2 separate regions of the Homo sapiens genome follow, and region 2 is linked to region 1. The links are contacts of gene promoters, found by promoter capture Hi-C in human tissues and cell types (Jung and others, 2019). All regions are on one chromosome and are shown on one strand. The core of a region is centred on a gene start or on the middle of the fragment in contact, and the rest is flanking DNA. Distances in the headings are between cores, read along the strand shown.

Region 1 (7,769 bases), core at 2,214-4,713:
TTCCTCCACCCTGGAGAAGATAATGAGCCAGTGGGGAAGATGGATATGAAAGAACAGCTAATCTTTTAGGCAGGAGGAATACCTGCTGAGTTGATGCTTAGATAGGGTGCTGCAGAAGCACAAAAAGAGCCAGTGGTTCTGATCAGAGGAAACTGGGAAATGCTTCATGGAGGGAGTGGTCTTTAAGCTGGGTCTTGGAGCCTGAATAGGAGTTCAACAGACAGAAGATGGGAAAGGCAAGGAGGCACCAGCATCCCAGGTTATGGGAGCCACATGAGCCATGTGAAGCATGGAAGTACTTGGATGTGTTTAGAACTTAGAGAAGAATGGACTGGAAGATAAAGCTGGTTAATAATTGTGTATGATGTTAGTATATAATAAAATATAGTAACTAATGACACATTCTGTTCAATTTATCCTACCTAACTCTGTGTCCCTTTCCTCACAAACTAGAATCTTAAAAGTAGTGCTATTTCCTCTTTTTGTCTGATTATTGGGAGAACTAGAGAAACAGAGTCCGGGAAGGTCATGGGATGCTATAAATGAAGGGAGTGTGGACATTTCCTGGTCCAGACCCCTCCACTGATGGATGAGCAGCAAGCCTCAAGGAGAAGGAGCGACTGGCCCCCAATGCCAGAGCAAACAGGTGGCAGAGACAGGTTGACACTGGGCAGGCACAGGCAGGTCTGAGGAGCCCAGGATGGGAAGAAATGGGATAAGCTGATATGTCTTTGGCACAATCTGACCCAGGTTGCCTACAAGTCCCAGGGGCTACTCAGAAACCTAGACTGGTACCAACATGGCTCCTATTCCAGAACCTTCTCCCCAAGAGAAGGAGAGAGGAGGGGCAGGAAGAAGGAGACCTAGGCTGCCCTCTGGGCTTCAGGGCCTCCCCACTGATAGGTGCCCTGGTCCCACACATAATAGGTGCAACAAGAAAGTGCCAACCTTGGGACATGAGTCCTGGTTCCCCCTCACTCACTGTGTGACCTTGGACAACACTCTTCCTACTGTCTGGGCCTCAGTTTCCTCATATGTAACATGAGAAGGTTGGGCTAAATGATCTCTAAAGGTCCTTTCAGTATTGAAGTGCTCAGAGAAAAAGCTTCATCATGATTAATAATACATGCCCTGCCCCTAAAGACAGCTTTTTCCCTTTTCCAAAGCTCTTTCACTCATAATATCACCTTTCATCGGTACAGCTGTCTGGCCTGGCAGTCACAAGCAAGCAGAACCTGGACACAGCCTTTTCACCTTGAAAACCTGGTCTAGCAACCCTCTTGCTCATCTAGACAGGCTTTGGGGGAATTCGCTTCTGGGGTGACTGTCACCAGGAGCCAATACATCAGAAATGCACAGAACCTAACTTGTACCTTCACCTCTGAGAAGCTGGGAAAGGCAGTACTTTCCTTCCAGGGAGCCAGAAGATGCAAAGGGGAAAAGCCTGCAATAGGCTGAGTTGCTGGTCAGAGGGCAAGACCAGAAATTCTGTGCCTGCAAAGAAACAAAGATCTTCCCTTGAAGAGGGAGGGGGAACATGGTGCTATAAATGTAGGACCCTCCCATTGGGCTCTGAAGTCATTAGAGAGCCTCATATCATCTGATTTGCACACATGTGTTCTTCTTTGATCTCTCAAAACAAATGGTTCAAGACGCGGGTAGAGCTAATATTATTATCTATTCCACTTTACAAATTGAAAAAAAAAAAAGAGAGACTCAAGGAGTCATGGCAAAGAGCATGGGCTTAAGAGGCAGACAGACTGAAGCCTCTTCCCAGCTGAGTGAAATTTACTGATTCTCTACATTGCCTTTAGCCTCAGTTTCCCCATCTATAAAATAGGCATGACCACACCTACCTTTCAGGATTGTGGTGAGGACCAGAGATGATGAATCCCTGACACACAACAGATGCTTAATAAATACTTGTTGAAGGAATGAAGGGGTTGGTGGCACTTCTGGGGTGTCATTGGAGGAGTGTAGTGTCCGGCAGTGACAGGTCAGCCCAGCCTGTGGGTAGACAGTGCTCCAGCTTCTGGCTGACTGCCTCCTGAGTCTGCTCTCAGTCAGGGGCCTTGGTGTCTCTTCCCTGTCTCTCTGCCTGGCCCATGCCAGGGTCCTGTGAAGGACTTTTTAACCCTTCTTGGCACTGAGATTTGCATTCCAATCATTCTGCTCACTCAGCCCATCCAAGTCTGGAGTTGTTTAGAGCTGGGCAAGGCCTGTGGGATCATCTGCTACGACACCTCGTTGAAAAGATAAGGAAACAAGGCTCTGAGAGGGTCAGTAATGCCTGAGTTTCCACTACCCTTCCCACCTCACCACCATAGCCACCATGTTTGACAAATGAAGAAACTGAGGCATAGGGACCCCCTCTCCTGCCCCAGTTCCCGCAGTCTGCCAGTGAGCCTCCTGCTCTGGGCCCCACCTGCCCAATTCCAGCTAGATCCCGGTTCTGCTGGGATGCCCTAAGGTGGTGGCAGGTGCTATCTCTGGCAACTCAGCCTAAGCCCAGCCTGGTGCACGGGTGCAAGACAGGAACCATGGGAGTCGGGACAGCCTAGAAGCCCCTGGGAGCGAAGCAGGAGGCCTAGACTCCCAGCCTGTGCCTTCTCAGCCAGTTCCAAGAACTGTGCTGACCTGGGAAGGCACACATTGCCTGAGAACAGGGCTTTCCCTTGGGTGTCAGCTCATGTGTGCCCAGGTCCACAGCTGGGCCCTGCCTGCTTCCAAGACAGCCAGAGTCTGGCCCAAGGGAGGAAGGAGTGTGGCCTGGGAGGAAGGAACGCTTGGCTGAGTCCCAGTGCTGTCACGAAATCACTGCGTGCCCATGCGTGTCACTTGACCTCTCTGGGCCTCCATTTCCTCATCCATAGGATAAGGGCAGGACAGCGAGGCCCCAAGTGCCTCCTGGCTGCAATATGCTGTGATGAGGGTGGAGGGTGGGGTGGGGAGGGGCTCGCTCTGCCTTCCTTGCCTTCCTGTCTGTTTCTCTGTCATTAGTTTATCTCCAGCAATCCAGGCCTCTCTGTCTCAGTCTGTTGCTCTCTCTGTTTCCATCTTTTGCTCTGTATTTTTCTGCCCGCCTCTCTTCTTTTTCTGTCTGAGTGCACCTCTGATTTTATCTCCTCCTCTGTCACACAGCCCCCTTCCCTCAGTCCTACACTGCCTTTCTCCCATTCTCCGTAGTTATCAGCGTTTCGCTGTCTAGTTTTCTCTGTCTCTCGGGCTCGCTCTCTCTCTCTTTCTCTCTCTCTGTCCTGCCCGGGCTCTCTCGCGGCCGCCCCTCCCGTCCCCTCCGCCAGCCCCCCTCCTCCCTCCTCGGCGCGTCTCCCCAGTCCTTATTTGGCTGGGCGGGAGGGCTGGCGGGAGGAGGCGGCCTGCGGGCGGGGGGCGGGGGGCGGGCGCGGGGCCGGGCGGAGGAGGGCGGTGGGTGGTGCTGAAGGGACAGCTCCGCGGCGGCGGCGGCGGCGGCGGCCCCGGGCGCTGAGCGGGTGCCCGGCGCGGAGAGCGGCGAGCGCAGCCATGCCCCAGGCCGCCTCCGGGGCAGCAGCAGCGGCGGCCGGGGCCGAGGCGCGGGCCGGGGGCGCCGGGGGGCCGGCGGCGGCCCGGGCGGGACGATGAAGCGGCAGAACGTGCGCACGCTGGCGCTCATCGTGTGCACCTTCACCTACCTGCTGGTGGGCGCCGCGGTCTTCGACGCGCTGGAGTCGGAGCCCGAGCTGATCGAGCGGCAGCGGCTGGAGCTGCGGCAGCAGGAGCTGCGGGCGCGCTACAACCTCAGCCAGGGCGGCTACGAGGAGCTGGAGCGCGTCGTGCTGCGCCTCAAGCCGCACAAGGCCGGCGTGCAGTGGCGCTTCGCCGGCTCCTTCTACTTCGCCATCACCGTCATCACCACCATCGGTAACGGCTCGCCGGGCGGGGGGCGGGAACCCAGGGCTGGGCGCGGGGCTCCGGGAGTCGTCCGGGGCCGGCTGGGGCTGGGGGCGGGGGCTCCCCCGAGAGGGGCTGGGCGCCGAACCCTGCGCTCGCAGAAACCCGAGTTCAGCCTGGCGTGTGTGCTCCGCGGGGACGGAACTCGGGGAGGCGTCGATTCCTGGCTCCGGACCTGACTCTCCGGCCGGGCCAGCCCTAACTTGGCCCTGCCATGTTGCATAGGCCCCCAGGGACTCCGAAGTGTGTGAGAGGGGCAGGGACGACCGGCGGAGGCTCGGGCAGGAGGGGTGTGGCCGGGCCAGGCCCTGAACAGGGCGCTGAGAGTGAGCGGCGGGAGAGCGCCAGTGCTCCGTATCCCTGAGGATCGGCTTCCACAGCCTAGCAGGTCTACACCTGCTGGGCTCTGGGGAGGCATGAGGATGTCGGAATGCGGCACTTCGGGGCACTTGGGGCCACCCTATAACGGCGGCTGTGAGTGTACGTGTGTCTGCGTGTTTCAGCTCCAGGAGTTTGGTCGCCACCAGTCAGTGCCTGTGATTTTCTCAGAGCGGCAGAATTGGTGCGGGAAGCCAGATCTGGCCTTGTCAGCCTTCTTCTCTGCTGTCCCAGCAAAACAGTCACCTCACAGGAATAACCCCAGTTCTTTCCAAGCCAGGGCAGATCACCATGTAGGAGGCCACACGTACACCCAGACTGTCAGACAACACAGGCATAGGCACACATGCACACAGATACACACAGGCACTCACAGGGTACACACAGGGCGGGCACACACACACACACACACAGAGAGAGAGACAGAGAGAGAGAGAGAGAACAAACGTTGCCCAGGAAAGGAATCTCTAGCCAGGCCCTTGGTGGTGCTATTCAAAACTGTCCAGACGGGAATAACACCTTACCTGTCCCCAACACCCTATGATTTCAGCCCAGCTCCATCACTACCGTGATATATGACCTTGGGCAAGTCCCTTCCCCTGTCTGGGTCTCAGGCTCACCTCCAGACAAGGAGGGGTGGCCAAAATGATCTCAAGAGCTCCTCCCCAGCCCCGACGTGCTTGGATTCTGAGATGAAACCCACCTTCCCCCAAAGCCCATTGAGATGCCTCCAGAAGCAGTTTCCTCTGTCTTTACTGTTCCCTCTCCTCTCCCTAGTCCCCTTCCCTGCCTTGATCAGACTCCCAGGGGTTCGTTGCCACTTAGCGCAGCCCATGAAGATGGCATTGTTTTCCTGGGAGTCAACAGGAGCTGAGGGAGTAAAAGGCAGGACTAGACACTCTTCCTGCGGTCTATCCACTGCAGGACACTGTTCCAAGAATCTACGGCTCCCTGGGGACCATGGGGAGCTATGCTGTGTCGTTTCTGGATTCTTCTCTTGGAAGAGGGAGGAAAGGGCCCTGGGAGTGGATGTGGCCCAGCTGGGGCACCTCTGGGTCCTACTGGTCCTGTGAGTTTAGGATAGGATGATCAGACTTAGGTCTGCCCAAAGAGGAGCCCGCTTCCTGAAAAACACCAGCCCAGATTTGGTCTGCAGTCTCTTCCACTCTCACACCCCACTACTATTTGCCAGGGTTTCAGTAGCTGTTTAGCTGTCTGGAGAATCAAAAGAATCAGACTGAACATCTTTGGACCCTCTCTCTCCCTCTTTTCCACACGTCAAGCCTTCACGCGTGTCCCCTTTCCTTCTCAGGCCCATGGTCCCCAGCTTCATAGTAACCTCCCAACTGACCTCCCTGCCTACCCCACAACAAGGCATGCTCCCCTGGACAATGCTGCCAGAAAGAAAAACTCAGCTGTCACCAAACCAATTCCCTTCTTGGAATCCCTCAATGACTCTCCACTGTCCATGGAATCTGGTCTATGCTCCTTATCTCAAATTTTGAGGATCTCCATACCTGGCTCCAACCTCTATGTCTGACTTCACATCTCACTTCTTACTTATGTGATCCCTCTCGATAGCTGCCAACCTGTCCTCTGAGAATACCTTAAGTATGCCTGTCTGGCATGCCTTTTTCTCTGCCCTTTTTCTTTTCTTTTTTCTTTTTTTGAGAGAAAGAGTCTCACTCTGTCTCACCCAGGCTGGAATGCAGTGGTGTAATCATAGTTCAGCACAACCTCAAACCCCTGGCCTCAAGCGATCCTCTCACCTGGGCCTCCCAAAGTGCTGGGATTACAGGTGTGAGCCACTGCGCCTGGCTCTACCTTCTATTTATCTTGTCCATGCTAACCTTCCAGGTCCAGCTCAAATCCCCCCTCCTCCTCAAAGCCTCCCAGGCCACTGCTCTGGACAACTGCAGGTCTCACTGTGAGGATGATCTGGGTGACACGCTGTTGGCTGTTTTGAATGGTTATTTGCATTATAGGGGAAGTGTTTTGTCTCTTTGACCACACTGTACTCAACCTCCATGTGGGCAGGTCCTGCAGTTCCTGTCTCTGTGCTCCAAGTGCCAGCATAGTACCCAGAGGCTGTGAGCACACACAGAATGCTATTGATGGGTTTAAGGTGTGCAGAAATGAAAGGGTAGCATCCTTCCCTCTTCCTCTGCCGTTTCCCAAAGTGCTTGCAGTCCTCACCAAGAGAGACGCTAAAAGCCATGGGGGGAGAGGCAGACAGAGTGCGGTTCTGGTGATTATTTATTTATAAAGTGCTGGGCAAGAGGAAAGACAACATCAGACCACCCCCCTGGTTCTGTGGGGGCCCCTCCCTCCCTGCCCCACCTGACCATCCTGGCTTTGTGTTGCCTTCCACTGTGGCTATGCCACCTTGCTGGAAGCTGTCCACAGGGGCTCTGCTCTAAGAAAAACCTATTTGGGCTGTGATCAGATGGTAGAAAGGGGCCTTAGTTAGGCTGATAATGGCCCCAAACCCAAGGGCAGCAGCCTGTGTTCACCTGACCCCTTTGAAAACATGAATGAGTCTCATTCTGAGATACCGGGTGTCCCATTGGGATGGAATAATGACAGCACTTCCCATCATTTGCTACCTTAGTGATCACAATGCACTTGCATCTCTTGTCATGATTCTCAGTCTTCATGACTTGGTGAAGTTGCTGGGCAGGTATTGTTAGCTCTGCTGCATGGATGAAGGCGTGAAGGCTCAGGGAAGGGAAGCGGCTCCCCCAGTCACCCAGCTGGTAAGCAGCAGAGTCAGAGTGGGAAGCTGGGTCTTCTGACTCCAAGCCCAGTGCTCTTTCCCTGCTGGTCTTTTGGCTGCTTCCTTTGACTCCATATGCTATGAAGCTCAGACCCAGCCAGGCCTGACACAGCCAAGCCGTGCTTAGTGATGCCAGCTCACAGGGTGCTCATGGGCAGCCCTGATTGGTTGGAGGTCAGCAGGTTCTTTCTTAGTCATTCACCTGGTTAGTCACCGTCTCCACTGGCTGGAAGGATTCCTCCAGCTCCCTATCCCTGGTCTCCCAGCCAGGAAACCCTTCCTTTGCTGGTGCCCTAAGTTCACCCAACAGTAATAGAAAGTCATTTCTTAGGAAGTCTTAACCACTTTAGCTGTTGAGTCATTAAACTCCTCCAGGGCCCAAGCCTCATCTATTCATAGCTCAGAGGCTGTCAGAGCAGGAAGGGGCTTCGGAGATCAGCTGGTACCACCCCCTGCTCTGACAGATAAGGAGTCAGAGAGGTGACAGAAATCACACAGTCAGAGGGTAGCAAAAACCTAACCCCCAGTCCCCTACTCCTTCTACTTGTTCAGGATACTTATTTATTATTTTTATTAACAACAGCAGCAGCAACAACAATAACAATGGCAACCACCATTTATTATTTACTTTGTGGCAGGCTCTATACTAGACGCTTCATTTGTACCCCCTTATTTAATTCTCTCA
Region 2 (7,769 bases), core at 1,332-3,831, 130 kb before region 1:
GCAGCTGAGCCCGTATCTGCTGCTTTCTCATCTAGATCTTTCTGGAAGGGTTGTGTTCCCCTTAAAGATTCCCATCAGCAAGGGATGAATTGAGTCATTTTGTGTTTCCAAATGCTACCTCGTTGGCAATTCTGTTAACTTAATGAAAGAACCCAAGATTCCCGACCACACTTGGATAATTCTTATTTTTGTGTGTCTGTTCAAACACTAATCACAGGATTTTAAAGCACAGCCAGTCTCTTCTGACACTCACATCACCCTGCTCTTACCTGCTTTATTCATAGAGGCGAGAATATTCATGCTGGTGTGGACCTCAGAGATCATGTAGCCCTGTCCCCTCCTGTTCCAGATGTGGTCACTGAGGTGTGGGGGGACTTGCCTGAGCCCCACGCTGGTGATTGAAGTGCTGGGCTGGAGCCAGGTCCCTAATGCCTGGCAATAACACCATGATCTCCTAAGTCTGAGCTCCAACTATGTACCAGGCACTGTGCTGGGCCCTTCACAACATTTTCTTCTTCTTCTTCTTCTCCTTCTCCTTCTCCTTCTCCTTCTTCTTCCCCTTCCCCTTCCCCTTCCCCTTCCCCTACCCCTTCTTCTTTTTTTAATGGAGTCTTGCTCTGTTGCCCAGGCTGGAGTGCAATGGCGCAATCTCGGCTCACAGCAACCTCTGCCTCCTGGGTTCAAGCAATTCTCCCTACCTCAGCCTCCTGAGTAGCTGGGATTACAGGCACGCGCCACCACAGCCGGCTAATTTTTGTATTTTTAGTACAGGCGGGGTTTTGCCATGTTGGCCAGGCTGGTCTCGAACTCCTGACCTCAGATGATCAACCCGCCTTGGCCTCCCAAAGTGCTGGGATTACAGGCATGAGCCACCACGCCTGGCCTTTTTTCTTTTTTAAAATCATCACAATAACCCAGATGAGGAATGAGCAGCTTGCCCAAAGTCATTCAGCAAGTTGCCGAGCCTCGGCTTTGTGACTTCAACGCCCCAACTCACCCCAATATCTCCCCAACCGTCATGTGGTGTTTCACACTGCCTCCCTCATTTAGCAGGGAGGGAATGGGGTCGACAGTAAGAGATGGACTCTGGAGCAAGCCTGCCTGGTACGAATCCTGGCTCCATGACTTCCTTACCCTGGGCAGGTTACTTATCCCCCCTGCCTCACCTACCTTATCTGTTCAATGGGGATGATCACGGTGTGCAGGTTAAAGAGGTTTCAGTTAGTTAACATGCGTAAAGCCTGGCACTTGATCATTGTTAGCTGTTATCATTAGTTAGATCTCTACTGTGTTCAAGATCTGGTTCTAGGAACCCCGGGGAACATGAAATAATAACAAAGCTGGTCTTCAGCCTCGCCGGCCAGGGTGCTCCATTTGGTTCCATGCTGTTCCTGGGGACACAGCTCCTAGGCACCTTGCCACAGGCAGTGCCTGCCTACGCCTGGCCTGGGTGCTATTCCTGCAGTGGGCAGGAGCTCTTGGGTCAGAGCCCCTGAGATTTGAAGGGGTTTGAAGGGATGAGATTGGCCTCAGTGAGGATCCAAGCTTCCTGCTTGCAAGTCGGATCTGGGTGGCATCCACTCCTCATTCTCTGTTTCTGGCCATGCCTCACCGGCTCTCAGTGCAGACACTTGGCCTGCGCCATGCATTCATTCATGCCCAGACTGCCACTGCGCCCCATGCCCACAGCTCCTGCCCAGCGGCTCTCACCAAGAGTGAGGGCAGGAGGATTTGCCTCCCAGCCCCTCTCTCTGTCTGCCTGGGGTGGCAGTTGTGCCCACATCTGTCACTGAGCTGGACCTCGGAGACTTCAGGGGCCTCTGGTCCTAAAATCAGTGCGTTCCACTCCATTGTCAGGAGAGTGGTCCCACAAAGGTGGCTGTGTCCCCATCCCCAGAATCCCTGTACAGCAAACACACACACGGTGGTGTACTGACAAATGTTTAACAACCAGTTCTCTGGAGCAAAAATGCTTTGATTTGTAACATTCATCCGTATCTGTGGTATAAATACTCTCACCAAAGCTGATTTCAAACTATCAACATAGTGTCCTTAATTGCAGAGTTGGGGAGGGATGGATGCACAGCTGTGCACCATTATATAACATTTCCACCCCACAGATAGAGTGGACATGACAACCTCAAACACAGACGATAGTAACGTGGCAAAATAATTAGGAAGTGAGGAGTTTTGACTGTCTCCTTTGGTTTTAGTGTGTTTTTCTTTCCTTTGAGACAGAGTCTTACTCTGTCACCCAGGCTTGAGTGCAGTGGCACGATCACAGCTCACTATAGCCTTAACCTCCTGGGCTCAAGTGATCCTCCCACCTCAGCCCCCTGAGTAGCTGGGACCACAGGTGTGCACCACCATACCTGGCTAATTTTTATATTTTTTGTAGAGACAGGGCTGCCCAGGCTGGTCTTGAACTCTTGGGCTCAAGCCATTTGCCTGCCTCAGCCTCCCAAAGTGCTGGGATTATAGAAGCCAACATGCCTGGCCTAATATAACATATTTAATTGTAATGGAATATAATTTGATATTGAATACTGGCTTGTTTAATAATAGACTTAACAATTTCCTGAAAATTTAGAAGTTGATTCCTTTGAAGCCAGTAGGCACTGCCTGTAGCCCACTACTGCCTGCCCCTGTGATATGGTTTGGCTGTGTCCCCACCCAAATCTCATCTTGAATTGTAGTTTCCATAATCCCCACATGTCACAAGAGGGACCAGGTGGAGATAATTGAATCATGGGGGCAGTTCCCCCATCCTGTTCTCATGAGAGTTAGTTCTCACAAGATCAGATGGTTTTATAAGGGGCTCCCCATTTGTTGGGCACCCATTTTTCTCTCCTGCCGCCATGAGAACAAGGACATGTTTGCTTCACTTTCTGCCATCACTGTAAGTTTCCTGAGACTTCCCCAACCCTGCAGAACTATTAGTCAATTAAACCTCTTTCCTTTATAAATTACCCAGTTTGGGGCAGTTCTTCTTAGCAGCGTGGGAACAGAGTAATACACTCTGCCAGCTTCCTGGGGCCTGGGGCTTTACCCTTCAGGGAGAGAGGTCAGGCCAGGCTTGGGAAGGGAGGGTTCCAAAGCATTTGCATTTCCAAAGCCCCTTCCACTTCAACCCAGGCCCTGGCACCCGAGGTGCAGCCCTCCAAACAGGCCAGTGCATCTTGGGGTATGAAACAAAGGCCATCTGCCCAGGAGGAGGTAGGGGACCCTTTGTGCCCATTCGTTAGTATTAGAATCTCCTGGGGAGCTTTAACTATGACCTGTGTTCGGGCCCCATCTAGAGATTCTGATGTCATTGGTTGGGCTGGGCCAGGGCTGCAGGAGTTTCTAATCCTCCCAGGCAATTCTAAGATGTAACCAGGGACAGGAATGCTTGTCTGAGAATTTCTATGGCCCCTTGCATTGCAGACCACTGTTGAGAAACTGGCAGGTGTGGTCCTGTTTTCAAGCATTTGAAAGAAGGGACCTCCTCGTGTGAAGCCTTCTACCTGTGCCATTCTCCTTGGCACACCCCCGCCCCCAGGCTGAGAGGTCTGACTGAAGGCACAGCAGGCACTACTTTCGTTGTTCGGTTCTCATCTCCAGCTGAGGGAAAAGATCATTGTCCCAGATTCAAGCCCAAAATACAGAAGCAGAAAGTAAATTCTACAGTCCCTCAATTCTTCTCCCTCTTGGCCCTGTCCCCACAGGGAGCTTCCTTCTCTATCCCCCCAGGAGGCAGCCTGGTCTCAGAGGGCCTCACACACTTAGGGAGCCTCTGGCCACTCACCTGCCTTTCTCTGCTGCAGTATCTTCTCTTCTGGAGGATTCATAAGCCACGTCATTCCCCACCCCTTTCCCAGGACCTCTGCCCCAAGGCCAGCCCCTATCTCTTCCCTGGAATTCACCTCTGAGCTGTTCAAGTACATTTCATAGGTAACTGGTGCCTCTCTACCTTGAGGAACTGTGGAGCCCCCTAAGAACAGGTGATCAGGGGCTCCTGGAGACTTGGGCTTTGCAACAGGGATCCTCCTTCTCTCCAGAAGAAAGGGCAACCCTTTAAAATGTGCCACCATTTGTCAATTCCATTCAACAGATATTCACAGAACATCCACTGGGTGCAGAGAATGCCAAGCATGCCAGTATGAGTACAACAGAACCCTACTTCCCCAGAGAGCCTATGATTAATAAGAAAGAATATTCCAGTGGCTCAGATTATTGTGATATGAAAGAATGTGAACTGAGGCCAGGTGCGGTGGCTCACACCTGCACTTTGGGAGGCCGGGGCAGGTGGATTACCTGAGGTCAGGAGTTTGAGACCAGTCTGGCCAATATGGCAAAACCCCGTCTCTACTAAATGTACAAAAATTAGCTGGGCATAGTGGCGGGCACCTGTAATCCCAGCTACTTGGGAGGCTGAGGCAGGAGAATCGCTTGAACCCGGGAGATGGAGGTTGCAGTGAGGACCATGCCATTGCACTCCAGCCTGGGTGACAGAGTGAGACTCAGTCTCAAAAAAAAAAAAAAAGAAAAGAAAAAGAAAAACAATATGAACTGAGACATAGGAGAGGTGCAAAGGGCAAAGACAGTTCCATGGAGCGGGCAGGCAGGGTCTGTGGGCTGGGTCATGGAGGCTCCATGGGAAAGAGGGCATTCAAGATGGGCCTCAAAGGATGGGTAAGATCACAATGTGGGAAGTGCGGAGAGCAGAGCCTTCTGGATGGAGGATGTGGCTTGAGACAAAAAAAATGGTGTGGAGTTGCCAGAAGGATGTTCTTTCAAAGCAGCAAATAGCCTCTTCAGCTGGAATGGGAAAACTGTGATGACAGTGGATGATGCGGCTGGAAAGCATTCTCACAGAGGCCCTGGCGCGGAGGGACTGACACCTGGCCCCGCTTGTGCTTGGTGTCACAGGCAATAGGGAGCCCTTGAAGGGTTTTGCCCTGGGGAGGAATGTGATCAGAACTGTCCTCAGTAGGAGGCGTTATGGAGGAGAGGATGCATTGTGGAATGTGGACATGCCGAATAGTCGCTGGTTAATCAGTTAATAAGGTTGATCATGGGATCTCTGATGGCTCATGGTAATTAGTTTTAATGTTGGCTGTGGGGCCAAGCAGTGCTATTAAGAGTCAGGGAAGGGACTGCTCCTTTTCACACAGTAACCCACAGTGGGCCTTAGAATCCACATGTGACCATTGCCCAGGGGTCCGGCTTGGCACAGTCTCCTGGCTTATGTGGTGTACAGATGGATGGAGGGACAGGGTGGTGGATGGGAGCAGATGAAGGGGTTGAAGGGGAGGTGTGGTGGCACCAGCCAACACAGCAAATGCTGCCACTCGATGCCCTGTTATAAAACTTGCCATTCCCCTCTGTTCCTCCCTACCTTGGCCTGCCACGTATCAACACAAACAGGACTGCAGAAGGCTCCACCGTGGAGCTCAGGGCATGCTCAAAGGAACACAAATGCAGGTGCATATAAGGGACACAGACCTAGCTTGCCAAGATGCGCCCACTGAGTGCTAAAGAATGTGAACCTGCCCATGTGTGCAAGTGTGTGAGTGCACACACACCTGCCTGAGCAGTAAGCCCTGAACAGAAGCCAGGCAGAACTCAGGAGGATTGCGGAGGAGAGGGCTTCTATTCTATTGGGATGCAAATATCGTGGCATTCAGAGAAGGTGGAGAAGCAGGGAGCAGAGGAGGAGTATGGCAGAGAGCTTGGGGGCGGAGAGAAGAATCACGAGAACACATCATTTTTCTATGGCTCCTTTCTTCGGAGGAGCCCATCGCCCCTGTAGGCGGGATGCTTCATGCCAGCATGTGCTCTGCTGATCAGAGCCACGCTCCTCTTAAATCAGGACTCCAGGGCATGGTGCCCCCAGAGTTTCTGGAATTCTGCCTCCTCCAGTGAACATTTGTTGAGCACTTGTCATGTGCCAGGTGCCAAGGATAAAGGAGAACACGGATTAGCAGAAGAAGAGACAAGTTCATTCGGGTCTGAGTGTGGACTTGAGGATGATAGTCCTCTCAGTGAGGCAGGTGCTAGGTACAGGGTGTGCAGTCAGGGGAGGTAGCAGAGGGCACTGGATCCTTAGGAGTGGGTGGCAGATCCCCAGATGGGCAACAGGGAAAATGCATCCCAGGGAAAGGAATTCCATGCAAAGGCCCAGAGGCCTGAAGAGCAAGTGGGGCCCCAGAGACTGGGAGTAACGCTGCTGGGGCCCAGGGCACCTACAGTGCAGTGATGGGCGAGAGGAGGGATGGCTCTGGTGCTGTATGGACAGCAGGCTGGAGGGGGTGATGCTCCATTTAGACCAGGGAGGAGATTGGAGATTGTCCAGGCAAGCAATGAGGGAGGCTCGCAGCAGTGGGATGGAGGAGGGCCACAGGCCAGTGGCTAAGGAGGGGCCTAAGCAGGACTTAGGGAGAGGTCAGATGTGGAGGGTGATGGAGGGTGATGGAGAAGCCATCAAGTCCCAGTTTCTGGCTTAGGTGGAGGTTGGAGGGGGCAGGGATATACTGGAGGAAGAGCAGTTTCAGTGGCGCTGAGTCTGTGGCGTGGTGGCCCAGCCTTGTGTGGATCCATTGCCAGGCATGTGGATCCATTGCCAGAATGGTGGAGGCTGGAGACCCAGAGGTAGAGAGGCTGTCATTGACATACGGGACATGTTGGAAGTCTAACACAGATGAGATCTCCCAGAAGGAATGGGTCCCTGAAAAGAGAAGAGGACCCTGGGGCAACACCATCGCCTGGGGAAGGAGCCAGACCCAGGGGCTCCCCCTGCCCTGGGACTTTCCTCAAAGCCTCACCCCAGTGGACACTTGTCATGGAGCTCCTCCAGTACCCACCCTGGGAATGGCCTTCCCTCCTTGTGGTTGATAGCACTAGAACCTTGACCATGGTCCCACTTGGGTTGGAGCTGGTTGTACCCAGGCCAGCTCAGCATGGCGCCTGACACATGCACCCCATGACTCAGTAAACACCGAGTGAGGATTGGGCTTGGGGAAGGCAGGCTGAGCACCGTGGGTCTTTGTGTTCCCAGCACTTAGTATGGTGCCAGCACACAGCAGGTTCCTGATAAATTAATGTTTCATGCCATCTGACTCTGTTTTTAAAAAATGATGTGTGTACAAAGAAGAAAGCCACAAATCACCCGAAATCCAAACACCCTGAATTATCCAGGGTCAACGTTTGGTGCATTTTATTCAGAGTTTCTCTTTATGTGTATATTCAGACGAGATCGGGCGCGCTCAGGGTGGTATGGCTGTAGACCTTATGTGTATATTCAGATAAAGGACTAGATGGAGGAGTGAATGGACGGATGGATGGATGGATATAAAGACAGACAAAAGCAACTTTATAAAAATATAATCATACCATATTTGCTATTTTAAAATGAAAAGCATGAAATTGAATCTTAATAGAACTTAACTGAAGAGAAAGAAACTGAAGTAAAATGGAAGAATAAGTAGATTTGAGATAAGTGTTAATTCATCACAAGAGATATTAGTACAAAAAGATCCCACTATAGGAGAGAGAGAGAGGATAAAAACCATCAAAGGACTAAAGCCATTATGTTGTACTTTTTTCTAACGATGTGTTTCAATTTTAGATGCCATGGGTTGACTCTGATTTAAAGAGATTCTTAGTAAGTGCACCCCCATCTCCCCTCCACCCACCCCCCAATTTTGGTTGCTTAAATTAGTTTTACTTTGACAGGTTTTATAACATTTACATTCCATTCTGTAACTAGCATTCACCTAGTTGCTATT

The links. The method cuts DNA at HindIII sites, captures the fragments that hold promoters and counts their contacts. A contact is called where the count stands out against the background at its distance.
Region 2: a fragment that was not itself captured here is called in contact with the fragment with the promoter of KCNK3 in region 1 in 2 of the 25 tissues and cell types used here (mesenchymal stem cells and spleen).

What each region holds. Positions count from the first base shown.
Region 1 is chr2:26,689,259-26,697,027 of GRCh38, forward strand. KCNK3 (potassium two pore domain channel subfamily K member 3) reads left to right here and starts at 3,464. Exons shown (of 2, transcript NM_002246.3): 1 at 3,464-3,900. The coding sequence starts at 3,618. The HindIII fragment of the contact is 34,558 bases long and covers 1-7,769 here.
Region 2 is chr2:26,564,507-26,572,275 of GRCh38, forward strand. The region is part of intron 1 of CIMIP2C (ciliary microtubule inner protein 2C); the gene reads left to right. Among named protein-coding and RNA genes, the nearest start is that of CIMIP2C, 5.8 kb to the left of the region's middle. RefSeq lists an enhancer at 1,602-2,107. The HindIII fragment of the contact is 4,843 bases long and covers 161-5,003 here.